3 separate regions of the Homo sapiens genome follow, and all the other regions are linked to region 1. Evidence: promoter capture Hi-C in human tissues and cell types (Jung and others, 2019). All regions are on one chromosome and are shown on one strand. Each heading gives the region's core, a stretch centred on a gene start or on the middle of the fragment in contact. The rest is flanking DNA. Distances are from core to core; before and after follow the strand shown. Region 1 holds the start of PTPRM (protein tyrosine phosphatase receptor type M). Region 2 overlaps GACAT2 (gastric cancer associated transcript 2). Region 3 has its middle 19 kb from the start of RAB12.

What was found. Contacts are between HindIII fragments. The study calls those that stand out against the background at their distance.
Region 2: a contact is called between a fragment that was not itself captured here and the fragment with the promoter of PTPRM in region 1, in 1 of the 25 tissues and cell types used here (dorsolateral prefrontal cortex).
Region 3: a contact is called between a fragment that was not itself captured here and the fragment with the promoter of PTPRM in region 1, in 1 of the 25 tissues and cell types used here (lymphoblastoid cells).

Annotation. Positions count from the first base shown.
Region 1 is chr18:7,566,042-7,568,591 of GRCh38, reverse strand. PTPRM (protein tyrosine phosphatase receptor type M) reads right to left here and starts at 1,276. Exons shown (of 33, transcript NM_001105244.2): 1 at 701-1,276. The coding sequence starts at 773. RefSeq lists a silencer at 1,226-1,595. The HindIII fragment of the contact is 7,623 bases long and covers 1-2,550 here.
Region 2 is chr18:8,697,239-8,699,788 of GRCh38, reverse strand. The region is part of intron 1 of GACAT2 (gastric cancer associated transcript 2); the gene reads left to right. Among named protein-coding and RNA genes, the nearest start is that of MTCL1, 7.0 kb to the left of the region's middle. The HindIII fragment of the contact is 4,689 bases long and covers 1-2,550 here.
Region 3 is chr18:8,589,090-8,591,639 of GRCh38, reverse strand. No RefSeq gene overlaps it. Among named protein-coding and RNA genes, the nearest start is that of RAB12, 19 kb to the left of the region's middle. The HindIII fragment of the contact is 4,842 bases long and covers 1-2,550 here.

The DNA of each region.
Region 1 (2,550 bases), core at 27-2,526:
GGGGAGCCCAGCGGGGCGCAGGGCCGTGGCCAGGGCCTGGGGACCTGCCCGCTTCCCTCCGCGGCCGCCAAGCCCTACCGCTGGGACCGGCGAGGAACTCCCCCCAGCCTCTCCGCAGACGCTGCACGACCGCGGGGACCTCCCGGGGTCGCCAGCCGCGCCGGGCAGGGGGCGACAGGGAGGGCAGGGCACCGGGAGATCGCCGCCGCCGGAGCGGCCGCCAGTTCCCGGCGATCGCTGCGGGCGCAGCCGAACACCAGCGGCCTGGGCCCGGCCGCTGCTCGGGGTCGGCGGGGACCGCGCAGCGCCTACGCCAGGCGGCCCGGCGGCTGCAACTGGGAACTTCAAGCAAAGTTTTCTGCTGTTCCTTTTGCAGCCGGCCAGGGACTCAAGAGTGCAAGCCGCCCAACCTTGAGCACTAGCCCAGGCCGCGGAAGGACGGCGGCCGAGCTGGCAGTCCCGGCTGGGGAGCTCGCCCTCGGGGTCCGTCCGCTCCGCCCGCCCGAGGACTGGGTGCCTGCCAGCCCCACGGCCCCTCGCCCAGCGCCCGGCTCACAGGCAGAAGCGGTGTCCGGCCCGCCGCGCCCCCCGCCCGGCCCCGACGCCAGCCTTAGGGCTCTACCACCAGGGAGCTGTCGGCGTCCCGGGCGTCCCGCGCCGGCCCGCGCGCCTCGGGGGCGGCAGAGGCGGTCCCGCTTACCTGAGAACGTCTCGCCCGCCGCAGTTAGCAAAAGTCCGGCCAAAGTCGCCAGGCAAGTCCCAAGTCCCCTCATGGTGCTGAGTGCGGGCCGGGCCGCTCCCCGGCGGCGGTGGGTGGGCGCGCGAGGGCGGAGGGGGCCGGGAGCTTTGGTTCCGAGGCAGCGAGGAGAGACGGGTAAACAGCAGAGCGCTAAGCCAAGCCCCCAAAGTGCCAACAGTTGCAGAAGTCCGAACTCCAGCGGCTCCAGGGGCGCGGGCACAGGGTCCTGGGTCCTCCTCCCCTGTCCCTGGCCCCACTCGGCGTCTGGCGCCGCTGGCAGAGGGAGCGGAGGGCGAGCCCGCGGAGCCAAAATCTTCCCTCGGTTCCGGTTGCTGAGCTCGCCGCCTCTCCCCTTCCCCTGCCCGGGACCCGGGACCCGAGCTGCCGGCCGTGGCCGTGGCGGTGGCCGTGGCCGTGGCCGCGCGCGTTCCGCCCGCCGCCTCTCCACAGGCAGCCCCAAGCCCAGCCCCGGGCGGCGGCGCGCCGATGACCGAGCCCGCGCCGGCTGCGCGCGGGGCTCTTGCTCCCCGACTGACTGGCGGTGCCCCGCAGGCCGGCTGAAGGGAGCGCTCACGTCACGGCCGCCCGGCGCCGCCGCGGCCCGCTAGAGGGCGTGAGCGCCCGTGCCCCGCCGGCCCGCGCCCGAGCGCCTCCGGGAGCTCGGCTGGGGGCGGCCCCGCGGCCACAGCCACTACCGCCGCCGAAGCGGGCGTCAGCCGCGCGGGGAGGAGCGGCCACCGGGCTCCCCCCGCCCACCTCCTCGCCCCGGCCGCGTCTTCTATTTTGGTAGCTGGCTCTGGGGAGGGTGACTGTGGAAGAGGCTGCGCCGCCGCCAGAAGTTTGTCCCGGGTCACGAGCCGCGAGTAGTTTGTGAGCGCGGCCGGGCGGGACCAGCGGCCTGCGACCCCGCGGGCGCGGCCAGGCGGCTTCGAGCCTGGCGCCGGACGGCGATGTCACCGCACAGGGCCAGCTGCACCCGGAGTCGCCGGGCCTGCGCTGCTCGGCGGCTGCGGGAAAAGCGAGCCAGGAGATCGCTGAGGCTCCGGAGGGCTGCGAGCTTCTCTACGCCGCGGGCGGAGCGAAGTTGGCGGGCGCCGGGAGATGGCGCGGGAGCCGGGAGCGCCGAGCCCCGCGATCGCCAGCCCGCTCCCGGCCGGGCCCGCCGGGTACACGCCGCTGGCCCCGAGCACTGGCGCCCGGGAAGCAGGGCGCGCTTCTGCTGTTCTGCGTCCTCATCATGCCTCGGTGTCCCGTGTGGGCCCGAAGCGAGCCGCAGGCAGTACACGGAAGGCGGTGGTCACACCAAAACCAGGGTTTGGACATAACCCGTGGTTTCTGTATCTGGTGCAAAGTGCTGAGAAACAGGGGAGAAAGAGAAGTGGGGGGTGAATCAAGTAATGTCTTGAAATATTTTAGTTTTACGATTTTGGGTCTGAGTGAATTAAAAAAACCTTACAATGCTTCAGCAAAAAATAATTTTTTTATTTTAATTGTAAATTTTTTTGTAAGTGATCCTTCTATCTTCCAGGGAATAAGCACATTGAGCCAGCACCAACCAGACAGCTGTAAGCTCCTGGCCTAGCTAACTGAACGCAATAGAAGGCTTGGGAAGAGGTTAAATTAGGAACCAAAGTAACTGAGTGACAGGGTTCTAGCAATGATTCTGGCTAGAAGGCAAACCGGTGATACAGAGGCACCCAGGAGCTCTCCTGCACTTTTTCCGCAAGAGGGGTCCTCTGCTTAGTGCTCACTGCTTTCTAGTGCTTATAAACACGTAAAAAAATAAATGGATTCCACACTCATCTTGACCC
Region 2 (2,550 bases), core at 27-2,526, 1.1 Mb before region 1:
GGTGTTTTCTCTTGTCATAACAACTGGATTGGAGGGCACTACTGGCATTTAAGTGAGGGAAGGGGAATAGTCAGGGGGGCTAGATATCTTGCAGTGTGCCCAGAGAAGGGTCGTCCTAGGCGGGATGAGGTGACTCACACTTGTAATCCTAGCACTTTGCGTGGCTGAGGTGGTGGATCACTTGAGTCCAGGAGTTTGAGACCAGCCTGGCCAACATGATGAAACCCTGTCTCTACTAAAAATACAAAAATTAGCCTGTCATGGTGGCATGTGCCCGTAATTCCAGCTACTCGGGAGGCTGAGGTGGGAGAGTCGCTTGAACCGAGGAGGCAGAGGTTGCAGTGAGCTGAGATCTCGCCACTGTACTCCAGCCTGGGTGATGGAGTGAGACTCCATCTCAGAAAAAGAAAAAAAAAAAGAGTCATCTCTCCTGCTACAGGACTTCCAAGTAAGAGTCCTCTGAAACATTCACGTGGGTAAAAAAATCTGTTTATCATTATCTAAGGCTAGAAGTACATGTTTTACACATAAACACAATACTTTTACATATAAAGCAGTATTTTTTAAGTTTTTAAAATATTTTTTAAAAGTTAATATAACTATTAATTGACAAATCATAATTATCATAATTACATTGACAGAGTACACCGTGTTGTTTTGATATATGTATACTAAAGCAGTATGTTTTTAGGGTTGTTTTACCATCAACTGAATTTTTTTTTAGGAATGAAACCACAGTAGAAATCAAGACTGGGCTGGGCACAGTGGCTCACGCCTATAATCCCAGCACTTTGGGAGGCCGAGGGCAGTGGATCATTTGAGGTCAGGAGTTTGAGACCAGCCTGCCTAACATAGCGAAACCCCATCTCTACTGAAAATACAACAAATTAGCCGGATGTGGTGGCACATGCCTGTAATTCCAGCTACTCGGGAGGGTGAGGCAGGAGAATCACTTGAACCCAGGAGGTGGAGGTTGCAGTGAGCCGAGATCGCACCACTGCACTGGGTGAGAAAGGGAGAGTCTGTTTCAAAACAACACAAAGAAAATAAAAATAAAATAAAGACTGCATTTTATTTGGAGATTTTCAATGCATTTTTTATCTTTGATCATTGCATTGAGGGAGTGCCACTCAAGGGACTGGAGTCATGAATAGAACCCACCTGTATTTGTCCGTGTTTTAGCAGTTGCTTCTATGTAGAGCATCTGACTACTTCATTATATATTTTGTAGTATATATGTACCTAAGCTTTATATATTGAAATAGATATTATTTTGTTATAAGTTGGTTTCTTATTATTTCTTTTTTGTATTACCATTAGAGAAGTATATCAGTTTTTAAAAATATACGGTTAGGGGAGTGACAACCACAAGTAGTGATTCTCATTTCAAGAAATTAAATGGCTACAAAACTGGTGTCCAGAATATATAAAGAACCCTTGCAACTCAGCAATAAAAAGACAAGTAACACAATTTTAAAATGTTCAAAGGATTTGAATAGACATTTCTTCAAAGAAGATATATAAATCACCAATGAGCATATGAAAATGTACTCAACTTCATTGGTCATTAGAGAAATGCAAATAGAAGTCACACCCATTAGGATGGCTAAAATAAAAAAAGATGAACAATAACAAATGTTGGCAAGTATGTGGAAAAATTAGAACCCTCATACACTGTGGATGGGAATGTAAAATGGTGCAGACACTTTGGAAAGTTGGCTATTCCTCAGAGATTTACCATATGACACAGCAATTCTACTCTTAGGTGTATACCCAAGACAATTAAAAAGATATATACAGGCCGGGCGCGGTGGCTCAGGCCTGTGGTCCCAGCACTTTGGGAGGCCGAGGCGGGTGGATCGCGGGGTCAGAAGATCGAGGCCGTCCTGGCTGATACGGTGGAACCCCGTCTCTACTAAGAGTACGAAAAATTAGCCGGGCGTGGTGGGGGGCGCCTGTGGTCCCAGCTACTTGGGAGGCTGAGGCAGGAGAATGGCGTGAACCTGGCGGGCGGAGCTTGCAGTGAGCCGGGATTGCGCCACTGCACTCCACCCTGGGCGACGGAGCGAGACTCCGTCTCAAAAAAAAAAAAAAAAAGATATATACACAGAAAAACTTGTACATAGATGTTCATAGTAGTATTCCAATACACATGCCCATCAGTAGATGAATGGATAAGCAAAACGTGGTATATTAATAAATGAAATATTATCCAGCCACAAAAAGCAATGAAGTACTGATACATGATCCAATATGGATGGACCTTGAAAACTATACTAAATGAAAGAAACCAGCCACAAAAGGCCACATAGTACATGATTACATTTGTATAAAATGTCCAGAATTAGCAATTCCATAAAGACAGAAAGTAGATTAGTAGTTGCCAAGGGCTGAGGGAAGGAGGAATGGGAGTGACTGCTGCTAATGGGTACAGGGTTTCTTTTTGGGGTGAGAAAAGTGTTCTGGAATTACATAATGATGATAGTTGTATAACTTTGTGAATATACTAAGACACACTGAATTGTATCTTTTAAAAAGTTAAATTTTATG
Region 3 (2,550 bases), core at 34-2,533, 1.0 Mb before region 1:
TATAGGCACCATGTCATATCTGGTTTACTGACAGTTTTTATCAAGAATGGGTGTTGGATTTTGTCAATGCTTTCTCTGCATCTTTTGATATGATCATGTGATTTTTCTTCTTTAGCTTGTTGATGTGATGCATTACATTTATTTGATTTTTTAATGTTGCCATGCATGCATGGAGTAAATTCCACTTTGTTGTGGTATATAATTATTTTTAGACATCGTTGGACTTGAATTGCTAATATTTTGTTGAGCATTTTTTTTTTTGAGACAAAGTCTCACTCTGTTACCCAGGCTGGAGTTCAGTGGTGCTATCTTGGGTTCAAGTGATTCTCCTGCCTCAGCCTCCTGAGTAGCTGAGATTACAAGCATGCGCCACCACGCCCGGCTAATTGTTGTATTTTTAGTAGAGATGGGGTTTCACCATGTTGGTTAGGCCGGTCTCGCACTCCTGACTTCAAGTTTTCTGCCCACCTCGGCCCCCCAAAGTGCTCGGATTACAGGCATGAGCCACCGCACCCGGCCGTTGAGCATTTTTATATCTGTGTTCATGAGACATATTGGCCTGTAGTTTTCCATTCTTGTTATGTCTTTATCTGGTTTTGATATTAGTGTAATGCTGGACTCAGGGAATGAGGTAGGAAGTATTTTCTTTGGTTCTCTCTTCTGAAAAAGATTGTAGAGAATTGGTATAATTTCTTTCTTCAGTGTTTAGAATTCACCAGCCATCTAGGCCTGGTGCTTTCTGTTTTGGAAGGTTATTACTTATTGATTCAATTTTTAAAATAAATATAGTCCTGTTCAGATTCCTCTTGTGTGAGTTTTGGCAGATTGTGACTTTCAAGGAATTGCTCTATTTCATTTAGGTTATCAAATATGTGGACACAGAGTTGTTCATAGTATTCCTTGGTTATCCTTTTAATATCTAGGGGATTCATAGTGATTTCCCCTCTTATATTTCTTATAATAGTAATTTGTATTGTCTCTTATTTTCTTAGTTAGCCTGCTTATTATTTTTATTGATCTTTTCAAAGAACCAGCTTTTGGTTTCATTGATTTTCGCCATTGATTTTCTGTTTCAATATCATCGATTTCTGCTCTAATTTTTATCATTTATTTTCTTCTATTTACTTTGGATTTTGTTTGCTCTCCTTTTCTTAGGTTCCTAAGGTGGAAGCTTAGAGAATTGATTTTAGATCTTTCCTCTTTTCTAATCTATGTATTCAATGCTATAAATTTCCCTCTAAATGCTGCTTTTGCTGCATCCCACAGATTTTGATAGGACGTGCTTTCATCTTCATTTGATTCAAACTATTTTAAAATTTCTCTTGAAATTTCTTCTTTGACCCATCTATTATTTAGAAGTGTGCTGTTTAACCTCCAAGTATTTTAAGATCTCCCAGCTATCTTTGTTACTGATTTCTAGTTTAATTCCACTGTGGTCTGAGAACAGACATTGTATCATATCTATTCTTTGAAATTGATTAAGGTGTGTTTTATGGCTCAGGTGTGGTCTGTCTTGCTGACTGTTCTGTGTGAGCTTAAGGAGAATATATATTCTCCTAATGCTGGATGAGGTAGTCTGTACATGTCCATAGTATCCAGTTCATTGATGATGGTGTTGAGTTAACCAAGCCCTTATTTATTTTCTGCCTGCTAGACGTGTCCATTTTTTTCTATCCAAATGTTATCCTCTATTTTTCCTTGAAAAGTCAGGTATCTTTCCAGGAAAGTACATCTAACATCATACAATTTAGAAAATGTGAACCAGAGGGTGGTCCCCAAACACCTGTGAGGATAGCCTCCAAGAGAGCAGGAATGCTAGTGATAGCATTTTGGATTTGGCATGTGACATGGGAGCCTGAATATGGATTTCAACCGAAGAAGAGGAAGCTTTGAGAAATTTGAGATCAGTTCAAAATGAAAACGTCAAGAGATAGCTGGAAACTGTTGCTGTTTAACATTCATATATATAAAGACAGTATTAACATTTCTGATCCTCATATTCTGGAAAAATCACAGAGCAGCTTTTGCTAAAAGGGTAATTATCTTTGTGAGGAATTGTTTGACTGGCTGGAGTAGAAATCTGCTTAAGTTATCACAAGTCAAAGATAGAACTGATCTTATATCCCAAGGATGGGAAGTGTAACCAGGCCCCAGGAGGGGTAACAATCAGGACCTGGAGAGTCAGAAGAAGAGTGTTATGGGCTGAGCTATGCCCCCTTAGATTCATATGTTGAAGTCCTAACTGCAGAACCTCAGAATGTGACTGTATATGGAGGTTGGGCCTTTAAAGAGCTGATTAAGGTAGAATGAGGTCATATAGGTGGGCCCTAATCCAGTGTGACTGGCAGGTTAGGAGAGAGACATGCACAGAGGGAAGACCATGTAAGCACCCGGGGAGAAGGTAGCCACCTGCAAGCCAAGGAGATAGGCCTCAGTAGAAAGAAACCCTGTTGACACCTTCATCTCAGACTTCCAGCTTTCAGCACTATAAGAAAATAAATGTCTGTTGCTTAAGCTGCCGTATCAGTGGTACTTTGTTATGGCAGTCCT